2 separate regions of the Homo sapiens genome follow, and region 2 is linked to region 1. The links are contacts of gene promoters, found by promoter capture Hi-C in human tissues and cell types (Jung and others, 2019). All regions are on one chromosome and are shown on one strand. Each heading gives the region's core, a stretch centred on a gene start or on the middle of the fragment in contact. The rest is flanking DNA. Distances are from core to core; before and after follow the strand shown.

The links. The method cuts DNA at HindIII sites, captures the fragments that hold promoters and counts their contacts. A contact is called where the count stands out against the background at its distance.
Region 2: a fragment that was not itself captured here is called in contact with the fragment with the promoter of DAOA in region 1 in 2 of the 25 tissues and cell types used here (dorsolateral prefrontal cortex and spleen).

Annotation. Positions count from the first base shown.
Region 1 is chr13:105,464,118-105,468,767 of GRCh38, forward strand. DAOA (D-amino acid oxidase activator) reads left to right here and starts at 1,928. Exons shown (of 6, transcript NM_172370.5): 1 at 1,928-1,943; 2 at 2,099-2,215; 3 at 2,936-3,024. The coding sequence starts at 2,172. It overlaps DAOA-AS1 (DAOA antisense RNA 1), which reads right to left. Exons shown (of 7, transcript NR_040247.1): 5 at 2,070-2,303. The HindIII fragment of the contact is 13,308 bases long and covers 1-3,349 here.
Region 2 is chr13:105,234,245-105,238,974 of GRCh38, forward strand. No RefSeq gene overlaps it. Among named protein-coding and RNA genes, the nearest start is that of DAOA, 230 kb to the right of the region's middle. The HindIII fragment of the contact is 3,510 bases long and covers 837-4,346 here.

The sequences.
Region 1 (4,650 bases), core at 678-3,177:
TCTTTGAATTTCTAACAAATGTTATTGTGTTTTAATTGTGCTAAGAAAACCCTGCTCTGGCAACCTAATAAAGTAGCCTGCTAATAACAGGTACTCAATAAATATTTGTGGAACAAATGAATTATTGATTCTTTGTATGAACAGTTCATTCTCAAGCAAACACCTGAACATCAACCTCTCCCACCCCACACCCCTTTTGAAATATTCTTCATAAAACTTCCTACTGTATGAAAGTATCTTCTGTGTGTGAATTTTTACAGTCTGCATCACCACATGGAATGTGAGATCCCTGAGAAAGGAGACTTTGTTTGTTTTGTTCCCCACAGTGCCTCAGTGTCTGAAATAGCACCTGGTAAATCATAGGGACTTCTGAAATACTTTCTGAATGGATAAATGAGTGGTAGGAAAAGTGTGAACATGGTAGATAAAAGAGAAGTCACCACTAGAACACCAAGTTCCTGACATACAGTTTCAAGGTCCAGCAACATAGTTGCTACGAACTAGCTGCCTTTAAAGTTCTCTAGATCAACTATATAGATTAGCAAGTCTTTTAACTAAGCATTAAGCAGAGTACTGCTCTGAGATTTAGCACCTCAGTCTTTTAGGTCCCTAAAGACTCCGGATTGGTTCCAGAGGTGGACTGTCAAATAGGAGGACTTTCTGCAGTAATGGAAATGGTCTATGTCAGTGCTGTCCAACATGGTAGCCAAGTGTGTGTGGTTATTGAGTACTTGAAATATGGCTAGTGGCACTGAGGAACTAAAGTTTTAATTTTAATTAGTTTAAGTAGCCTTAGGTTGCTAGGGGTTACCATATTGGATATTGCAGTTCTAGAGTTATTCTTCTCTCCTCATATTCAAAATTATCTTATGATGCTATCATAATTGAAAGATTAGCCAGGGACCCTATCATGGCTATGGCAGTCATGTCCTGTGAAAAATTCCATTAATGACCTCCACGTTTTATGATGTGTAGAGCAAAATCTCAGTCTCCCTGAGTAAGGCCTGCTCCATGTGGACACCTGGCTTTCTCCCTTGTCTACCTCCCTCAGTGGAGAGTCCACCTGCTGGTAGTGCACTCCTTAGGTGCCTGTCTCTGGCTGTCCTGTGCCACCTGCACAGAGTCATGCATGAGCTCCACTGTGGGAAGTCTCTAGAGATGAGCTGAGCTTACCCTACACCAACTGAAAGAGTCTATCTAAGTCCTGAAGATCACAAGTCATCCTCATATTCCCATGAATGTGAATGGAAGTTGGGCCTGCTCAGAGAATCATCAGGGCTCTTTATTGTGGCCTGGAGCCAACTGCCAAGGAGTGCCTAGGAACACACTCAGTAAGAGTGTTGCCCTCAGGCCAGATCAGACTTGAACCTGCAGAGAAATCCCCTAGGTATGTCAGCAATTGCTCATTTGGATGCTATAAACTTGAAGTTGTGAAAAATATAAAGACTTACATTATCCAGTCTCTCCTGGCAAAATATGTAGGTTTAATCATTCCTGAATTTTCCTTAGTTCACACAGATATACAAATATATATCCTAAAAATTGGCATTGGTAGGCGTGTCAAGTTATCATTTTAAAAACATAGAAACCTGAACAAGATGTATCACTCCAGTCTAGAATGTCTATATGCAGAGTATCCACAAAAAACCAAACTTCAACAGTCTTTCATGTCTATATTTCTTCAACATTCTTTGTCTTCAACATTCTTTCATGTCTAGAATGTCTATATGCAGAGTATCCACAAAAGACCCAAACTTCTTTCATTTAAAGAACCAAACTTCTTTAAATAAAAATGACTCACAATAATTTAATATTTTACCATTTACAAAGAGATTAACTACAACAATATTGATCTTGAGTTAATTTCCCACGAATAACATTTTCATTTCTTAAAATTTGCTGAATGGAAAGCCAGAAAGTAGAGTGAAGCAAGTAATGTGTGTGTGAGTAGTCATTGGATACATACATAACAGTGAGCAAGTTTATCAGCTCCTGCATGGCAGTGTTCTGATGATCTTTTGCTGCAAAAGAGCTACACCCCAAATTAGTGGCTTAAAGTAAAAGCTTACTAGTGTATATGATGATTCTGTTGGTCCAGGATTTGGAAAGGGCATGGCAGGAGGTCTCATCTCTGCTTCACAATGCCGATGATTTAGCTGGGAGGACCCAAAATGCTGGAAAAGCTGATGGGTGCTGATTCTCTCCAGCTTTTCAGGTAGGTAGCTTGGGGTTTTTTACAGCATGGCGGCCTCAGTGCAATGTGACATTTGCATGGCAGCACAGAGCTCCCAGGGTGAATGTTCCTGGAGACAGGAAGTGGAACATGTCAGGGTTGGAAGCCTGAGCCCAGTATATGGTTCAGCCTTACTTTCTCCCATATTCTGTCAGTCAAAGGAGAACCTAGCCAAGGATCACTCATGTTAATGAGGAGGAGACATAGGCCCTCACCTATCCCTGGGAGGAGGATCAAAGAGTTTGAATCTTTAATCCACAGCAGGCAGACAGCTTTCCATTGTTATAAACCACCTCCCCCTCACTCCATCTGCCTGTGCTAATTGTTTGCTCACAGGAATTTGTTTAGCACTGTGTAGAACTGGGATAACTTTGTGCTTATTTTGCAGTTAAAAGGGAGAGGCGCTAGTTTGGAGATTTTTAAAAAGCAAAGGTTTGAGAGCCAGTAAGACCTGGAGTGAACTCTCCTGTCAGCTATTTACCAACTGTATGACTGAGCAATTTATAAAAAAAAAATGCAAACCTCAATATCTTCATCTATAAAAATAAAAAAATAAGACGTATTTGGCTGAATAGTTAAGATTAAAAATATGAAAGTGCTAAACCATACATGTTATATGCTCCATTGATGTTGCTTATTCTTTCTCTCTTCTGCAGGGTATAAAGGAATCTGAACACGACTGATATTTTCTTTAATTTTTAGATCCAGATATACATTGGGTAAAATCTACTTCATAGGTTTTCAAAGGAGCATTCTTCTGAGCAAATCTGAAAACTCTCTAAACTCTATTGGTATGTTACTCTTTATCTTTATATGAATTTAAATTCTTCTAGAAGTTAGATAAAACTGTGGTAAAGCTACATAATACTTTTGACATATTTTCAAGCGTAGACAAACTTCAATTAATTTGTAAGATACAGGAAGAAAATTTTTCCAGTTAAAATGTACCTCTTGGTTTCTGGAGTGTTAGCAACCATTCACACTTACAGTTCAAACAGTGCAACCTTGTAAAACATATATAACTTATGAAGAGATCGATATCTCTTTTTATAAAGCAAACAAGTAAATTTTTCCCTCAATCCATGATTTATTTTTGTGAAGTGGGAATTTAAGGCAGTAGTTCTGCTTTCAAGTGAAAACCTGGATCAACTTTTAAATATCTATAGGCGCAAACCCAAGCTAGGTCTCACACAGTGCCTCACTTAATAATCTGTCAACGTTTAATTCTTTTTCTTTTTTTTTTTTTTTTCTGGAGACAGGGTCTCACTATGTTGCCCAGGCTGGAGTGCAGCAGCGCCTCGGCCTCCCCAAGTGCTAGGATTACAGGTGTCAGCCACAACACCCAGCCCATTAATGTTTAATCCCCTAGAAGGTGATCCTTTTTTTTTTTTTTTTTTCAAAGAGACAAATTGCAGCTCCTTCTCTGGGCTTTTCTACACTATAGCAGATAACTTAAAATCTGACATGCCAAGATATAGCCTTGTCTTAGTTTTCTATCACTGCTATAACAAATAAGCACAAATTTAGTGGTGAAAAAAACAAGCACATTCATTATTTCATAGTTCTCATCAGGCTGACAGACATCTTACCTGGCTAAAAGCAAGGAATGGGCAGGGCTGCATGCCTTCTGGAGGCTCCAGGGCTGAGTCCATTCTCTTGCCTGCCCCAGCTTCTGGAGGCCTCCTGCATGCCTTGGCTCGTGGCCTGCCCTCTGTCTTTAGAGTCAGCAATGTTGCTTCTCTGACCACTCTTCTTCCAGCATCCCCCTCTCTAAGCACAGCAGGGAGACCTTCACTGATTATAAAGATGCCTGTGACTACCTTGGACCCACCAGGATAACCGAGGTCACTCTCCACCTCCCGGTCGTTAACATTAATTACATCTATGAAGTCCCTTTGTTACACAAGATTCCACAGGTTTTCAGGATTAAGAACTGGACATTTTTGGGGGGTGGAGCAAAGAAGTTTCTGCCTACCACAGCCCTTGATAGCATAATTAAAACATTGATTTTCATAAGGTTTTCCTAAACTGAATTTTATTTTGCCTCAAAGGTGCAGATGGTCAGTCTTTGAGTGCCAAGTTTAGATGCTCATCTTACTTTTAATTTCTGACCAAGATTGATGATTACTTGAATATGTTGGCTACCCAAGTAATTTTATTTACTTTTATTAAAGAGGATAATTATATTTCAATTAATAGATTCTCTTTAACAACAATTAAAAAATTACAAATGTTAGCTGAGAGTGACAGATATGAAATGAATTTAAAAAGTCTAATCAATGCCTGGTGGAATAATTTGAGAAGCAAAATAATTAGAAACAATTTTCATTGAAAGGCATGCAGTATGTTAATTTCTTCCACTTAGCCTTCAACAAAGCTAAGAATGTTGGAAGGAAAACAAGCTTATTGTCTTCTAA
Region 2 (4,730 bases), core at 1,342-3,841, 230 kb before region 1:
GCTCCTGCCCAGACTTACAGAATTCATAGTAGATTCTTCAAAGCAACCAAATTTGAAACTCTGCGCTAGACTTTATATGTATATACTGTGTATATACATATATACAACATTTATATATAAAATTTAATTTAATACTTACAAAACTTCTGTAGGCAGGGATTTTACCTGTATTTTTTACGAAGTAGGAGTCAGGCTAAGGAATGAATAATAATAGGCTCAAAATTGTATATCTAAGTGAATGGTAGGCTTCATATGATAAGGCAGGTAAATCCATCTCTAAATTCTATGCTCATCCTATTTATCGCATTGCCTCACCCAAAGGAAATCAAATAGGGAACTCTTTCAGAGAATGAATGAAAAAAAAATTCTTAAATGAGGTCTCAGGTGATCCTGAAAAATGCAATAACCAAAGCATCTCCAGGATATCTTACACTGTAACATTAATCAATTAATTCATTAGTCCATTCAGTGAGCAATCATTTATTGTTTTCCACCTATGTACCAAGCACTGAAAATATGTAGAAAATAAACAAGTCAAAATAATCTTGAAAGTATTTGTTTACAAACAAATCTCGGCAAAAGTAAAGTTAAAAAAGGGGTTGAAGTCAATTTGTCCTAGTGTAAGTGGGCTTTGTATAAAACATAGCATTTATGGGTTGATTTTTTTTTCTCTGCAAAAGATGCGTTGAAGTCTTAATTCCTAGTATCTATAAATGTGACCTTATCTGATAATAGAGTCTTTGCAGATGTAATTAAGATGAAGTCATACTGGAGTAGGCTGGGTCATTAACCCAGTATGACTGGTGTCCCTGAGAGAAGAGACAGGGGCACACACACATACACACAGAGAGAGAGAGAGAGAGGGAGAGACAGAGAGAGAGAGAAGAATGCCATGTGGATACACAGACCCACAGAGGGAAGACGTCAGAGACTGAATTTAAGAAACTGCAAGCCAGAGAATGGTAAGGATTGCTGGCAACAGCAGAAGGGCTGGGCCATTAACCCAATATGACTGGTGTCCCTGAGAGAAGAGACAGGGACACACACACACACACACACACACAGAGAGAGAGAGAGAGAGAGAGAGGGAGAGAGACAGAGAGAGAGAGAAGAATGCCATGTGGATGCACAGACACACAGAGGGAAGACGTCAGAGACTGAATTTAAGAAACTGCAAGCCAGAGAATGGTAAGGATTGCTGGCAACAGCAGAAGCCAAGACAAAGACATGGGGCAGATTCTCCCTTGAACTTCAAAGAGTACATTTGGAACTCAGATTTCTCGCCTCCTAAATTTCTGTTGTTTTAGGCCATCCAGTTTGTAGTGATTTTTTATGGCAGTCCTCGAAAAGTAATACTCAGGGATTCTCAAAATTTTGAAGTCAGAACCTCTTTAGATTATTAAAATTTATTGAAAACTCCAAAGAGCTTTTGTTTTTATGGGATATATAATCAATATTTATTGTTTAATAATTAAAAGTGGTAAATTTTTAAAATAGTAACTTTTAAAACAGGAGCATCCTCATTATGTATTAATATAAATAATATATTTTAAAGTAACTTTTTTCAAAAACAAAATTCACTTAGAAGAGTGACATTGTTTCACATTTTTGCATCTCTTTAATGTCTTGCTTCATAAAAGGCAGCTGGGTTCTTATATTGACTTCTGCTTTCAATCTGCTTCAATATGTTGTTCTGAGTGAAGTATATTAAGGAAATATGGCCTCATACAGATATATAGTTGGCAGAGAGGAATATTTACTTGTCTTTTCAGATAATTCAAGATATTCTTCTTGGATGCTATACCTAAACTCATTAAGTGGTAGTATCTTAAGCTTGTTGCTATGTAGAATCCGAAACTTTATAAACTTTTTATACCCTTTTCTATTAAATCCATTGGTTTTTTAATATCTAGCTTTCATTTTGAATGGATCTTTACGCGTGCATAATTTTGTATCAATGTGCACTATTCATTTTGAAAATATTGGTTTACTCACTTAGGGCTAATCTTCCAATGTTGACACATGTCCTTATACAATAGAAAAAAAAATAGCACGGGTTAATGTCAACAATCTTAACTGAAAATTCTTTAAGTTTTGGGTAACCAGTAAGTTCATGGTGGCCAATACAATTTTTTTATTCTAATTTTGATTGGTAACCGAAATTTTATAATTGATAGTTGATACTCTAGTTATCCTTGAAGTGACATGCTCATTTTATTCAATTTGAAAATACGTCTGACATACACTGAATCCCTTATAAAGATCATTTATCTGTCAAGCATTCTTTCAAGTAAACATGGTTCTCTGTGATTAAAACTGCTAGTTCAGCTTGTAACTCAAGAACATGCTATTATCCCAGGACAACCATCAGAATTGGAGATGAAGCAGAAGTGCCTTTCATGTATTTCCCCTTTTATTACAGGGAATATTTTTTAAAGTCTATTTAAGTGTAAAAATATAATAAGATTTTACTGCTTCTGAGTTAACAAGAGAAGAAAGAGAAGAAAAGAGTGCATGAAGACATGTAAATAATATTAGGCACTGTTTTCTGCTTTGGGAAATGTCCAACAACTGGACAAAAATCTTTCCCAATTATTTCATACTTATGCGACCTTAAATATTTTACAAAATCTCTGTAGGCCTCTGCTTCCTTAATGGCATGAAGAAAGCTTCCACAACATTATTATAAGTCTCAAATCCAATTATTTATAAGGCATCCAGCATGGGGCCTGGTACTTGTTGGTGATGACAAAAAATTTAGTCCTTCGCAACACTAGTCTTCTGACAAGGGCTCTTGTCCAAGGTATTAGAGCATTGACATTTATTTTCACCTGACATGTACCTGACATGCAGGCAAATTTATCTTTCCTCCATAGAGCATTGCGGGTGCAGAAATGGTAGAGATGGGAGTACCTTTACTTACTGAGGGTGAGAAACCAATGGCATAGAGAAAGAGAGATTTAATATTCAGTTGTGACAGGATGTGGGAGCAAAATGTCAAAGTTCTCAGGAGAAGATAGGATGTAGATTACAGATGAAAAATAGAAGGCCTAAGTAGGAGGCGAGCGTACCTCTTCGAGAACAAGAAGAAATGAAGTTAACACTGAGACCTATGCAGATAAGTTTTCATGGGATTGAAATTGGATAGAAATATTTTTGTTCCGATGTATTTTTGTTACCAGGAAGGGACTGCGGTTTCTGAGTTTCCTGCACACCCATGTGGATGTGACAGAGCAGGAGGACCTGGGGCTAACTTGAGGGTCATAAGACCGGGTACTGCTCCAGGAAGCTGTCTTCCAGTTTAGAGCCAAGGGGCTGAGGGTCACAATGCTCATCCCAGTGTTTGTTGGAAAGAGGAGTTGACAGTCAAAGGAGTCGTCTCACACTCTATGGGATACTGCCCTACAACATTACAATCAGGATTGTGCCATTATGTGAGAAATTCTACAGCTAAATTTCTTTGCTATACGCTTGAAAAATACCATTCAGCTTATTTCCTTCCAATGAGAAAAATCTGGGGAATATTTGCTAAACACAACTCTTTTTATGTTAAAATATTTACATTCGTTCTAAATGGTTCAGTAAAGGAAATGGGATTGTTTACTGGCCTCTAACTCAAAATGAGATGTACCTGATGTCATATTCGTAGTCTGGTACTCCAAGCTTTTTCAAAGTGCAGAATTACCTGTGAAGACAAAGCAATCCAAACTTGTCTTTCTACTAGGATTTGGTGGTATACAGTGACTAAATTTTTCAAAATGCTTCTTTCTCTATGTGGAGAAAGGATGAAGAAAGTATAAAGTACTAACTTATTTCTAAATTGTCAAAAATACAGATATGGGAGTTCCTCTGTTTTGTTCTTTGTCCATTGAAAGAATTTACCTTATTTTATATGTATTTTTCACTGTTTTTTTTTTTTTTCTTTTTTTGACAGAGTCTCGTGCTCTGTCGCCCAGGCTGGAGTGCAGTGGCAAAATCTCAGCCCACTGCAAGCACTCCCTCCCAGGTTCATGCCATTCTCCTGCCTCAGCCTCCCGAGTAGCTGGGACTACAGGGACCTGCCACCATGCCAGGCTAATTTTTTGTATTTTTAGTAGAGACGGGGTTTCGCCGTGTTAGCCAGGATGGTCTCCATCTCCTGACCTTGTGATTCGCCCGCCTCAGCCTCCCAAAGTGCTGGGATTACAGGCGTGAGCCACTGCGCCCGGCCTTTCTTTTTAATATGATTGTTTTCTTCACTTAAATATGAACTGGTTGATAAAGTTTTATGGAGATATTCTACAACAAGGTACATCATGTGAGTTTGAGATCATGTGATTGGATTTCTGCTGCACTAATTACCCCAGGGATTAAGGTGGCTGAAATGTATCAGATTGTCTAATTTGTTTACCAAATAGAAAGGCAGGCATATAAAGTCATCTATTTCATTTGAGTATTAGAGACATATTATAAGTAGAAAATCTCATCTCTATGTCTTGCAGCATAATTATCCTTTTGCTACGAAGAAAATATTTCACCTTCTACATCTTGACTTACAATTTGCTTTATTACTTGTCTTCCTTTAGGAAATAGCTCCTCTGCTGTCTCTTTTTAGTCTACTTATCCAATTGTGTTTTATAAGCACCTAGTTTTTGTGGTAACATTCTACTCTCACATGTATCAGTGCACTCAATTCTATCACTGCCCTGGAACTGTGCTTACTCAAGTATCTTTCCCAATAGAGTGAGGGA